4 separate regions of the Homo sapiens genome follow, and regions 1, 2 and 3 are each linked to region 4. Evidence: promoter capture Hi-C in 16 types of primary human blood cells and fetal thymus (Javierre and others, 2016). All regions are on one chromosome and are shown on one strand. The core of a region is centred on a gene start or on the middle of the fragment in contact, and the rest is flanking DNA. Distances in the headings are between cores, read along the strand shown. Region 1 overlaps LSM11 (LSM11, U7 small nuclear RNA associated). Region 2 overlaps CYFIP2 (cytoplasmic FMR1 interacting protein 2). Region 3 has its middle 10 kb from the start of THG1L. Region 4 holds the start of ADAM19 (ADAM metallopeptidase domain 19).

The links. Contacts are between HindIII fragments. The CHiCAGO score rates a contact against its expected background, and 5 or more counts as called.
Region 1: a fragment that was not itself captured here is called in contact with the fragment with the promoter of ADAM19 in region 4 in 1 of 17 cell types (neutrophils); the score reaches 7.2 in neutrophils.
Region 2: a contact is called between a fragment that was not itself captured here and the fragment with the promoter of ADAM19 in region 4, in 1 of 17 cell types (endothelial precursors). The highest score is 5.9, in endothelial precursors.
Region 3: a fragment that was not itself captured here is called in contact with the fragment with the promoter of ADAM19 in region 4 in 1 of 17 cell types (activated CD4 T cells); the score reaches 5.8 in activated CD4 T cells.

The regions. Positions count from the first base shown.
Region 1 is chr5:157,747,936-157,751,203 of GRCh38, reverse strand. All of the region lies in intron 1 of LSM11 (LSM11, U7 small nuclear RNA associated), which reads right to left. Among named protein-coding and RNA genes, the nearest start is that of LSM11, 5.9 kb to the right of the region's middle. The HindIII fragment of the contact is 2,676 bases long and covers 644-3,268 here.
Region 2 is chr5:157,369,850-157,373,185 of GRCh38, reverse strand. The region is part of intron 26 of CYFIP2 (cytoplasmic FMR1 interacting protein 2); the gene reads right to left. The region is part of intron 1 of NIPAL4-DT (NIPAL4 divergent transcript); the gene reads left to right. Among named protein-coding and RNA genes, the nearest start is that of FNDC9, 26 kb to the right of the region's middle. The HindIII fragment of the contact is 4,441 bases long and covers 1-3,336 here.
Region 3 is chr5:157,719,355-157,722,706 of GRCh38, reverse strand. No RefSeq gene overlaps it. Among named protein-coding and RNA genes, the nearest start is that of THG1L, 10 kb to the left of the region's middle. The HindIII fragment of the contact is 2,063 bases long and covers 997-3,059 here.
Region 4 is chr5:157,574,293-157,577,395 of GRCh38, reverse strand. ADAM19 (ADAM metallopeptidase domain 19) reads left to right here and starts at 1,621. Exons shown (of 23, transcript NM_033274.5): 1 at 1,621-1,793. The coding sequence starts at 1,700. LOC124901121 (a long non-coding RNA gene) reads right to left here and starts at 2,417. Exons shown (of 2, transcript XR_007059018.1): 1 at 2,026-2,417; 2 at 786-1,116. RefSeq lists enhancers at 1-222, 2,080-2,159, 2,396-2,925 and a silencer at 1,470-1,909. The HindIII fragment of the contact is 8,826 bases long and covers 144-3,103 here.

The sequences.
Region 1 (3,268 bases), core at 732-3,231, 170 kb before region 4:
ATTCCAACAGAATGTGGATCATCCATATGTATGAATATCAGCCAAATGTTTCACTACCGGTATATCTCTTATTCCACGATGTCACTGATTTTAACATGCACTATCACTTAACTTTTGGGGTTGGCCGGGCGTGGTGGCTCACGTCTGTAATCCCAGCACTTTGGGATGCTGAGGTGGGCGGATCACCTGAGGTCAGGAGTTTGAGATCAGCCTGGCCAACATGGTGAAACCCCATCTCCACTAAAAATACAAAAATTAGCCAGGCATGGTGGCCCATGCCTGTAATCTCAGCTACTCAGGAGGCTGAGGCAGGAGAATGGCTTGAACCCAGGAGGTGGAAGTTGCAGTGAGCCGAGATCGCACCATTGCACTCCAGCCTGGGCAACAGAGCAAGACTCCATCTTGAGAAACACACACACACACGGGCACGCAAACATTAAATGTATACATTAACAGCGAGATCCTTCTCAATTCTGTGCCTTAAGACAATTCATGAATCACATATCCAGCTTGAGTCTTCCAAAAAAACAAAAACCTTGTTTACATGTTCAAAGGAAACAAACTGCACTCTGCCCTTAAACATGTACAATCCTGTCAGAAAGAAAGGCCTTTGACCCCACCAAAGCTACTCCATGCACAAGCTTTCTGGACTCACTGGTGTTTCTGGGAGGAAAAGCACTGGTTCTGGCCCAAGCCCTGACAGTGTAAAAGGCACCTGGCTGAGTATCTGGCTCCTATGACACTACTAATAAGCATCATGTGAAGAGAGCAGGATAATGACTCATAGGAAGAATATTGAGACTATAAATTTCAGCTTTTATTATGAAGGATTCTCAGAGCGTGGGAGGAAAGATGAATTTTATTTTTATTATTTCATGTTAACTCAGCTCTCACAATATGCTGGCTATGGTATATAAAACCTCCCAAAAGAAAGCCGTACACATTCTTTTTTCCTGAGACAGGGTCTCACTGTCACCCAGGCTGGAGTGCAGTGGCACAATCACAGCTCACTCCAGCCTTGACCTCCCTGGCTCAAGCGATCCCCCTAGCTCAACCCACTGAGTAGCTGGGACTACAGGCACGCACTACGCACCCCCAATCTCTCTCTCTTTCTCGTGCGTACACAGTCTCACTCTTTCCCAAGTTTGCAACGCAAAATTCTGTAGAAAGTTTATTTTTGGTCAGGTCTTAGAAGTCTGGATATATAGAGTATTTGGCATTGACAGTAGACAAATGAAAAATCTCTCCTGCTTTGTTTCTAGTGACATAAAGGAGAACAACAGTCCTGCACTTCAGTTTGGATAACTAAATTGGTTCCTCCTGAAGCCACCTTATCCCTCTGTCATGGATTGGCTTATAAATGATGGCTGTGATAAATTAATAAAAGATTCTTAGAAGAAAATGACTTAGCAGACTAGCAGGAGTTTATGTCAGATTAACGGTGTGAGAATAACTCGGAGTTGGAAGCGACACGAAGCAGTGACTTTGGAAAAGACCATGAGAATTCTGGTCTGACCATCATCATTTACCTCTCTTCTAGCAGTATTTTAAAGTCCTTTGTACATTTGCTAGCTAAGGGTGTGTATGGGTGTGTGGGTGTGTGTGTGTGTGTGTGCGCGCGTGCGCGCGCGTGTATATGTGTTATAGGCCATATTAAATCAAGCATTCAAGCATTGTAAACAATTTTCAGGTCATTATAACTAGTTGTGTGAACCTGATGAATAACTTTTTCTTTAAGTTCCAAATTTCCTCATTCATAAAATGAGGTTAAGATAGTTAACTTGTAGATTTATTTCAGGACTAAGTCCCAATAACTCAATTTCTTAGAAACTGATCACATGCTTGCATTATTTCTTTTCCTACACATACATATATACTGCCCCCTGCCCTATGATGTATGTTTATACAAAGAGTGGAAAGACTATTTTTTTCTAACTTGGAAAAAAACAGGGACATTACTTCTTTCCCACACCTCCAAAAATAGAAAGGGCAAGCAGGTATCTTAGCAACAGTCTCTTACTCTAATTAAATAGATGGCAAATTCAGGTCTTTCAATTGGTCTTTCTCAAACGTGTACCTTTAATTTTTTTCTTCCAAAGATTTAATAAGGTGTAATTCCAGGAAGCATTGCTCTCCTTGTATCCTTGTGTGATCAAAAGTACGACACTAGCACCACCTATCAGAGCAAACCGCCAAGGCAAAAATGAGCTCCCCATTCTGAATCAGAGTGCACATTCTCTTTCCAGCCGTCTCTGTGGCAAGCTCCAAATGGATATGAGTCAGGTTTCTATGACCAAATATGACAAAAAAGCATATGCCTTATCTTTGGAGAAAGTTACTCTTCCAATCCCCTTCTCTATTGCCACATCCTTCCAGATCCAGGTCATTTTCAGCTCCACTCTTCCTTCTCCTGCTACATGTAAATTATACCATCACAGCCTGATTTTAAAATAACTGTTCTCAATCATGCCCTTCTTTAAAGACCTAAAACTTGCCTCTTACAGTAACTCTTGTTTTCCTTAGAAAGAAATATTTAATAGGAATGTAGGAACAGAAGCCACGTCTGCGTCTCAGGTGGCGGCAAAACAAGATGGTGGATCCCCGTGCCATGACCCCCAGATGCAGGGCTTATATGCTACAGGGAAAGGGTGATTCAGAAGGGATGTGTAGGACAATTGAAGTAAGATAACGTCAAGGTTGTTCTCATGTAAGGACAGGAATTACAGTAAGTACATGCTCTTACACAAGAAACAACAGATAAATTGGAAATCTTAGAGGCCTTCCCAGAACTGGGTTTAATCAGAAGTCAACATGGTGGACTGGCATTCAAGATGGAGTTGCTTTAGCCTCCACAACTACCTATTCAAAGATTTAAGGACAAAACTGTATCTACATATATATCTCCAAATATACAAAGTTATTAGCTCATTAGGGCAAAGGCAGCTCCCCAGATTCCATAACCTATTAAGGGCCCAGAGAAATGAAACCACAAACTGTAACAGTCACCTTATGAGTCTGCAATGGAAAAATATTTTCTCTTTTCTCTGAAAATAGTTTTAGTTGCCATTCTATAGAAGGGTGCCATGACAGATTGAAAGTACAATGTTTGAATCAGTGACCCGGCAAAGGCACATCAGTGTCTTCCCTATTGTGATGCTATGTCAAACTGGCCTAAACACACACACACACACACACACACACACACACACAGCAGTGTGGTGCAGAAATCATCTGAGACTATTCCTTAGTTGCACTGGAGACAGCTGAC
Region 2 (3,336 bases), core at 511-3,010, 200 kb after region 4:
ATAGATAAGTTGGTGGAATAGGCATGGCTGAAATCTTCTGAGCCTTGTGGGTCAAAGTTGGGAGTTTGAATTTTAAGTATAACAAGAATCCACCTGTTAGTTTTAAGCTGGAGAGTATAAAATTTATAATGTATGAAGACCCCTTTGCTGTTAATGTTAAGGCATGACCCTCTCTCGGCTCAAGCGTGGAAAGGCAGTGACCCTCAGTGGAGCTGGGTTTGAGACATTTCTCTTAAACAGAGCATAGGGAGAAGGCATTCTTTGTGTGTGTATTTGTGTGTGTGTGTGTTTCTCTGTTAGTATTCCTGAAGCAGAAGGTAAGCCTTCCCACCACGGCCAATGGGAGGAGGGTGGCTGCCAGAGGTGTTCTCTAAGGGTCTCTCACTGGCCTCTAATTTGGACCGGCCAGCTTCCCTGGCTTCATTTGTCTTTCTTGGATCTTAAACTGGTATTTCCTCATGGTAAATCAAATAGGTGGTCAGCCTGTAAGTCACAGCCAAGTTCGATGCTAGCAAATGCGTCTATAAATTTTTTTAATGAGGCCAGATGTAGCTCCGGGATATATGTTACCAAGAATAGATCTTACCAACTAGCAGGGTAGCTGGAAAAGACAAAAACCCTCATGACTTTCCTCCTCCTCATATGTCACAACCTTGTCTGGTTTAACCCCTTTCCTTCTTAACTTTTTGATCCCCTGTTGAAGTTTTATGTCCCCCGCTTCAACTTCATATTAGGAAAAATTCTAAACACATAAAATATTTGAAGGAATAATGAATATCCTTATAACCTTGATGTACAGTCAAAATGAACATTTTGTCATATTTGCTTTAACTTTACTGAGTCATTTGAGAGTAAATGGAAGACATTGAGTCACTTCAGCCTTAAATACCTAAGCATGCAACTCCTAAAAACAAGGACATCCTCCTGTGCAACCTCAGAATTGTGATTCCCCTATATTTAAAATTTTCTTAATATGATACACGATGTAGTCTAGACTAAAATTTCCTCAATTGTTCTTAAAATGTTTCTTTTATAGCTTTTTTGTGGAACCAGGATCTAACCATGATGAGTTTTCCAAAGTGTGAATAATATGCAATTGTTATACAAAAACAACGAACTTCAACGATCCCTCCTTGGAGAACTCCCAGGAGCTTGTGCTTCTGCAGAAGTTTCTCTCTGGGAGGAGTTAATGAGTAAAAGTTATGATTCAGTAGTTTTGCATGTACCAAGTGTCACGCTAATGTTTATTATTCCCACTATATGATAACTACAAGAGAAATAATCATTAGGTGATTAAGAACCACAGTCTGTCTACTGTAAAATTGCTGTGTTGACAGTAAAAGCAAAAAAGGTTTTTAGGGTCAGGATGCAAAAATATTTTACTGTAAGGAACTCACATCAGAATTTAAGGGATTCATGTTTTATTTTTGCATTACTTTCTGTCTTAATTTAATTTTCTTTTCATATTATAGTTAATTTAAAACTGATGGACCACTAGTTTTAAAACTGAGGGATTCCATCAAATATCAAAAACCTTAAGTGTTCCCAACTCACTTAGTCTATGAGGCTAACTGGAGACTTGATTTCTCTTGGCTACAGGCTACCATAAAGATTCCGCGTACATATTTTAAAAAGATTCAATATGATCCTAAGAATGCCAGATTTATGCAGAATGGCATTAGACTCTACCTTTAGGGTTCTGTTCACAGCTGAGTGAAAAACTACCATTTTTAGCTGATTTCCTAAAGAGCATCATCAAACCAGTATTTTCTTAACCTTTAACTCTGATTTTTGAGGCAACAAAAAGACAAATAACACTAATGCATTATGTTTTTGTATGGAGAAAGGAGCTGGAAATGGGAGGTCCAGGCACCCCACAGGGATCGCTGCTTGGATTTTCTGGCAGGAGGGGGACGGGGAGCTGGGCCCTAACCAGAGAGCTTAGTGTTCTAAACATTCCCTTATATGGAGGCACATAATGTGTTTCCCGCATACTGATGTTAAGCCCCGAGGATACAGAGCCTGTGAAGCAGGCAAGAAATTAGGCTTCCCACTTGCACCATGACCCTCTCCCCTTGCACAGAATGTACAAGCCACAGCTTCCAGCCCTCATTTGGGACTCCAGGTGCAGTGGAAAGCCCAACCGAGAGACGCTGTCTCTGCTCCTGTTCCACTGGTCCCTCACTTCCAGCAGCTCTTCATAGCCCTTGCTAAATCTATCAGTAATTTAATCTTACCTGATTCTGTGTGTGATCTTTTCCTGTCAATCTATGCCTTGCTTGAATAGTGCTGTATATTACTATGTTTCACTTCCAACCCCTTCCTCCGTCCCCTGAATTGTCAAGGGGATAATAGAATTATTATTCTGGATCAGAATCATGTCTGGTCAACTGGAAAAGATCTATAGCCAGGAAACTGTGGCCTAGAAAGTGGGCTTTCTCTTCCCTCAAGTATATGCCAATGTCTTCCAAGGTTAGCATTTCCTAAAGTGGAAATTGGGCATACAAGGAAATGTGATTTAATCATAGTGAGCCACACAGTGAGCAAGTTCTTTCCTTTTTCAGTTTCCTATCAATCTTTCTGACAACCTTAATGAGAAAGTCTCCATTTGAAACCAGCACATGTTAGCACCTAATATTTACTAATCTTGTTTTTATCAAAGAGGGAGTAGGGCTTGTGTTCAGAGATCTGGGCAGGCAGCAGCTGGAATTATATGACTTTGCTGTATTTTGATTGATTGAATGTATTATTCTGGTTGCTTTCTAATGATGGCAAGGGATGATTTTTTTAAATGGAAGTGATAGTTTCCTTTTAAAATTAAGTTTCAGTAAAAAGATTATGTAAATAACAGAATCAGTGATCTGCAGATGTGGCAAGAACTGTGACAACTAAGCATCAATGTCAAGACTCTGGCAGCTCTAGTCCAAGAAAATGCTTCTAGATCAGAGATCCTCCACTCTGACTGCACATCAGAGTCAAGTGTGGAGCTTTTAAAACATCTGGGTCTGGCCAGGTGTGGTAGCTCATGCCTGTAATCCCAGCACTTTGGGAGGCTGAGGCGCATGGATCACGAGGTCAGGAGTTCAAGACCAGCCTGGCCAACAGGGTGAAACCTGGTCTCTACTAAAAATACAAAAATTATCCAGGCATGGTGGCAGGTGCCTGTTATCCCAGCTACTCGGGAGGCTGAGGCAGAGAACTGCTTGAACCCAGGAAGTGGAGGTTGCAGTGAGCCGAGATCACGCCACTGCACTCCAGCCTGGGTTACAGAGCAAGACTCTGTCTTTAAAAAAAAAAAAAAAAAAACTAGGTCCATTCTCAAGGATTTTGTTTTCC
Region 3 (3,352 bases), core at 779-3,278, 140 kb before region 4:
AACCTGACCTTTCTCTCTGGCTGCCCTTAACATTTTTTCCTTCATTTCAACCTTGGTGAATCTGACAATTACGTGTCTTGGGGTTGTTCTTCTCGAGGAGTATCTTTGTGCTGTTCTCCGTATTTCCTGAATTTGAATGTTGGCCTGCTTTGCTAGGTTGGGGAAGTTCTCCTGGATAATATCCTGAAGAGCGTTTTCCAACTTGGTTCCATTCTCCCCATCACTTTCAGGTACACCAATCAAACGTGGATTTGGTCTTTTCACATAGTCCCATATTTCTCAGAGGCTTTGTACATTTCTTTTTACTTTTTTCCTCTAATCTTGTATGCTCACTTTATTTCATTAATTTGATCTTCAGTCGCTGATATCTTTTCTTCCACTTGATCGAATCAGCTATTGAAGCTTGTGCATGCATCACGAAGTTCTCGTGCCATGGTTTCCAGCTCCATCAGGTCATTTAATATCTTCTTTACACTGTTTATTCTAGTTAGCCATTTGTCTAACCTTTTTTCAAGGTTTTTAGCTTCCTTGCAATGGATTAGAACATGCTCCTTTAGCTCAGAGATGTTTGTTATTACCGACCTTCTGAAGCCTACTTCTGTCAACTCATCAAAGTCATTCTCCATCCAGCTTTGTTCTATTGCTAGCAAGGAGCTGCGATCCTGTGGAGGAGAAGAGGCACTCTGGTTTTAGAATTTTCAGCTTTTCTGCTCTGGTTTCTCCCCATCTTTGTGGTTTTATCTACCTTTGGTCTTTGATGTTGGTGATCTACAGATGGGGTTTTTGGTGTGGATGTCCTTTTTGTTGATGTTGATGTTATTCCTTTCTGTTTGTTAGTTTTCCTTCTAACAGTTAGGTCCCTCAGCTGTAGGTCTGTTGGAGTTTGCTGGAGGGCCACTCCAGACCCTGTTTGCCTGGATATCACCAGTGGAGGCTGCAGAACAGCAAATATTACAGAACAGCAAATATTGCTGCCTGATCCTTCCTCTGGAAGCTTCGTCCCAGAGGGTCACCCACCTGTATGAGTAGTCTGTCGACCCCTACTGGGAGGTGTCTCCCAGTTAGGCTACATGGGCGTCATGGACCCATTCAAGGAGGCAGTCTGTCTGTTCTCAGAACTCAAACACTGTGCTGGGAGAACCACTGCTCTCTTCAGAGCTGTCAGACAGGGATGTTTAAGTCTGAAGAATTTTCTGCTGCCTTTTTTTCAGCTATGCCCAGCCCACAGAGGTGGAGTTCTATAGAGGCAGTAGGCCTTGCTGAGCTGTGGTGGGCTCCACCCAGTTCGAGCATCCAGGCCACTTTGTTTACCTACTCAAGCCTCAGCAATAGCGGACGCCCCTCCCTGCACCAGGCTCCAGCCTGGCAGGTGGATCTCAGACTGCTGCGCTAGCAGTGAGCAAGGCTCCATGGGGGTGGGACCCACTGAGCCAGGCACGGGAGAGAATCTCCTGGTCTGCCAGCTGCTAAGACCATGGGAAGAGCCCAGTATTTGGGCGGGAGTGTCCTGTTTTTCCAGGTACAGTCTATCATGACTTCCCTTGGCTAGGAAAGGGAAATCCCCTGACCCCTTCTGCTTCCCATGTGAGGTGACGCCCCACCCTGCTTCGGCTCTCCCTCTGTAGGCTGCACCCACTGTCCAACCAGTCCCAAAGAGATGAACCAGGTACCTTAGTGGGAAATCACTCGTCTTCTGCGTCAATCACACTGGGAGCTGCAGACCAGAGCTGTTCCTATTCAGCCATCTTGGAACAGACCTCCCATGGTAGCATCTTTAAACTGAAATATTGGACAGAGAGTTTCCATTGCTGTAGTATTTTGCTTAATTATTATCTTTATAGCAGGGATAATAGTTGACAAAAAGGAAGCATGAAAGTTTTACCATCACTGAGTCTGCTAGGCCTTTTTTGGGGTTTAGTAATGCAGTTTTAAATGAAACATGCTGCTTTTGGATTAACACCGCTAGTAAAGTAGAGGAAAATCTACAGGTACTTAAAAATCAAATCAGCTGGGCATGGCAGCTCATGCCTGTAATCCCAGCACTTTGGGAGGCTGAGGCAGGCAGATGACCTGAGGTCAGGAGTTCGAGACCAGCCTGGCCAACATGGTGAATTCCTGTTTCTACTAAAAGTACAAAAAATTAGCCGGGCATGGTGGCACGCACCTGTAATCCCAGCTACTCAGGAGGCTGAGGCAGGAGAATTGTTTGAACTCGGGAGGCGTAGATTGCAGTGAGCCGAGATCACACCATTGCACTCCAGCCTGGGCAACAACAGCAAAACTCCATCTCAGAAAAAAAAAAAATCAAATCATAATTATTGACAGGCTCAGGAAAAATGACAGCTTCAGCTCTGAGTGGCTACAATCCCTTTTTAATAAATTCCAGTCTTCTTTATGGAATTGGTTAACCCCTTTTTTAAGCACTCTCTTGCTTATATGTCTTGTATTGATATTTGGAGCCTATATACTCAATACTATAACTCAAATTGTTTCTTCTCACCTAGAAGCAATCAAACTCCAAACGGTGCTGTAAACTGAAACACACATGGAGATGCCATTCTTCTGAGGACCCTTAGATCCACCCCAGGAGGAGCCCTAGCTGCTGTTCCCCCATGTGACTCCCCTTTTCAGCAGAAAGTAGCCAGAAAGAACCATAACCCAAAACCCTCTAACAGCAGTTAGTGTGGCATCTCCATAGCGGGGAATGTTGTAGGAAGAGAGGTCCTTGGGAAGTTTTCTTTTTTTCTTTTTTTTTTGAGACAGAGTCTCACTCTGTTGCCCAGGCTGGAGTGCAGTGGCGCAATCTCGGCTCACTGCAAGCTCCGCCTCTCAGGTTCACCCCATTCTCCTGGCCCAGCCTCCTGAGTAGCTGGGACTACGGGTGCCCACCACCACACCCGGCTAATTTTTTTTTTTTTTTTTTGTATTTTTAGTAAAGACGGGGTTTCACTGTGTTAGCCAGGATGGTCTCTATCTCCTGACCTCGTGATCCTCCCGCCTCGGCTTCCCAAAGTGCTGGGATTACAGGCGTGAGCCACCGTGCCTGGCCAAGGGAAGCTTTTGTTTTTTAAAGCATCTCTGGAAAAGTTTCTCTTAAATCCCTGGCTCTTAGCAGCAGCCCACCAACCTTTGATATGCAAATACTGACCATTAGAAAGTGGGCCCACCCAAACATGGAGATTCCTGTGGCCTTCCTGCCCTTTCCCCACATGTTCCTGGCAACATGGCCACCTCCAAATATCCCCAGGAGTGTAGAACATCATGGCGCCCTACATTTGCATATTAAAAGGCTAGGGTGGGAGGGTCAGCTTTTTTACAGGCTACGTGAATGTCATGCCTAGTCAAACCAATC
Region 4 (3,103 bases), core at 372-2,871:
CCGGACCGGAAGCAATGTACATCCTACACATATTGATTGATGTCTCATGTCTCCCCAAAATATATAAAAGGAGGCTACACCCCCACCACCCTGGGCACATGTTGGGACCTCCTGAGGCTGTGTCATGAGCACGTTCTTAAGCTTGGCAAAATTAACCTTCTAAATTGACTGAGACCTATCTCAGATATTTCGGGTTCACAGAAAGATACGAATTTTACAGCAGCTGGAGACTAACGGAGTCCCAAACGACATTAATGGCCAGAACCACTTATTTGATTTCCCTCATGGGTGCCCATGAGTAGGGTTTGATAGACCTACCTACCCATCATCTTCAGGAGTGCCTCGCCCTCTCCAACACTTAGCACTTCTCTAGTCAACCTGGGTTTGACTAAAGAGGCTCAGAAAAAGGAACAGATGGACGAGGTTTGAGGCTGGGATTCTACAACGAGGCTTTGCTAAAACTTGCTGAGGGATCTTAGGCAAGTCATTTCTCTCTCATTATCAGTTTCTCCACCTGGAAAATAAGGTGTGTTGCATCAGGCTCTGGAGTTATACGGATGTGGGTTTGAATCTAGGCACTGACATTAGCTGTGTAATCTTGGGCAAGTGGTTTAGCCTCTCAGGTTTGATTTCCTCATTTCTAAAACAGGGATAGTACTAGTACCTACCCCATGGGATTACTGGGCTAATGAAAAGAGATAATGTATGCAGAGTCCCTGGCTCATAAAAGTTATTTTCTCCGATTAATTAAATAAGTGAATATGTGTAAAGTGCTGAAGACAGCGTTTGACACTTAGCGTTTTATCAGTCTTAGCTATCATGATTTTCTTATTCTAGTACATAGAAAGTCCTCAATAAGTAACAGTAGTTATTATTATTTTTGGTCACATGTCCCTGTGTTTCCCTCCAAAACCCTAACCATCCCCAATTCTGGTTTTCTCCCCGCATGCAGCCCAAGGGTTTTCACGTCCCAGTGCGATTGTCTGGGCTGTTTCCTCCGCCTGATGTTCCATTTCTCCTCCTCCCGATCTCAGATGGCTTCTCCTCTGGGATTCCTCTGGTCTTCATCACTCCCTCCTCCCAGGCAGAAGGAATGGCTCCTGGATTTGTGTCCTGCTTAAAAAAAAAAAAAAAAAAAAAAAAAAAAAAAAAAAAAGAAGTCCATATAGCACTTAGTTCTTTGTGCCTGGCGGTTGGGTTAACTCTTTCTGAGCCTGTCTCCGAGAGTGGCGGCCCCCGGGGGACGGCGCTGGGTGAATCACCTCTGAGTGTCACCCAAGGCGTCTGGCACAGTGCGGGACAGTAAACGGGCCGCTGTGCGGAGAGGGGTCCAGTTTAACTCCTAGAAGCCCGAGTCCCCGACCCTCTACAGGCCGCGTCCACCACAAATCCCTCCTCCTGGGGGGCTCGGATTCTCCCTTCCCCGCGGTCTCCCTCACCTGAGCCAGCCCCGCTCCCCCGAGTCTCGCCAGCTCCTCCCCGGCCCCTCCCTCCAGCCCCCTCCGGGCTGGAGCCTCCCCTCCTCCATCCCCTGGCGGAGGCCCGCGGGGCTGGAGGCGGAGCGTCTCGGCAGAGGGCTGGGAGCCGGGTGGGGAGGCGCGGGGCGAGCCGGGGGGTTCCAGACGCGCCTCCACCGCCGGGCAGTGGGCAGGTATGGCTGAGGGCGTGTGAGCGCCGAGCGCTAAGGGCCGCCGCCACCATGCCAGGGGGCGCAGGCGCCGCCCGGCTCTGCTTGCTGGCGTTTGCCCTGCAGCCCCTCCGGCCGCGGGCGGCGCGGGAGCCTGGATGGACAAGTAAGTGGCCAGGCGCGGGGGGATGGAGGCTGGGTGGCCCGGAGACCTGGGAGTAGCCTTGCGGGTCCGGAGCGCTGGGACCGCGACCCCTGCGCCTCCCGCAACTCCGCGGGGCCTGCGCCCCCGCCGTCCCCAGCCTGGGAGCCCGGGCTTTGTTCCCACGTTCTGCGCCCTGGGAGGTGGCAGAGGTCGGGGAAACCCGGCGCAGCCAGAAAACAGCCGGTCCGCTCACTGGCTAGCCTTCCCTTCTCGCCTTCTCCTTCCTCTGTTTTTCTGCTTTTGGCTTCTCTTTCCGCCGTTCTCGGGGCTTATCCTCCTCCGTTTTCTCACGGTCCCTCGTGTCCGCTCCGCCTCTCTCTCTGTCTTTCTCTCTACCGCCCGCTGCACTCGCCAACGCCGAGCATCCCGAGCGCCCTGCCCGTGTGGCCTGGGAGCGGCTTCCTGGGACCAGGCTCGGTGCCTGCCACACTGGTGGGGTAGGACATAAAATGCCCGCGGCAGACTGTGGTAGCCTTGGCTAGGGGATGGCTCGCTGGGTATCTGCAGCCACACACTTCGGATCCCCGAGCTGGCAGGAGCCCTACTGAAGGCCAAGTCAAACGCACCCATTTCACAGATGGGGAAACCGAGGCCCACAAAAGGGAAAGGACTTGCCCAAGGCCACGCCACGGGTTGAGGTCCGCGGTGGCACTGGAAACCAGGGCTCTCTTTCCACGCCAACCCGACGGCCGCCTTCTTTGGTCCTCAGTTTCCCCTTCTGTGAAGCGAAGGGGTCTGACTCGATGTTTCCAGCTAAGATGCCGGGTGATGTCCGTGTTTCTCAGGACTAGTTTCCCAGACACCAATCCCCTCCCCGGCTCCATCCCTCGGGGGCTATAAGCAGATTTCGCGGAAGGCTTGGTCCCGGGGGGCGGTGCCCGGGTTCTCTCATTATGACCGGAGAAGGCTTAGCCCTGGCTCCACCGCTGCAGACGGGCTGGGCTGACTCCAGACTGCTGCTTGGGGGACCAACAGTCAGCGTTTTCAAATAGAGCGAGCACCGGCGGAGCGAGGGTGGGCTGGCTGGACCCCCGGGCCGCCTCAAACCCAGAGGCTGAGAGCTCTTCCGACAGTTCGGAACTTCCAGGGGCCGAGGTCGGGCGGTCCTCCCAAAGGGCTCAAAGGAACCGCCCTTTGAGCTGTTGTTCCGAAGGGGAAACTGAGGCACAGAGGAGGTTCTAGGGTAGCACCAGGCCTGTGTCAGTGCTTAGTGCAGGAGAAAAGCATGAAGAAAGACAAGGAAAGCTAGTTACTGCTCCTAGCACAGGCGC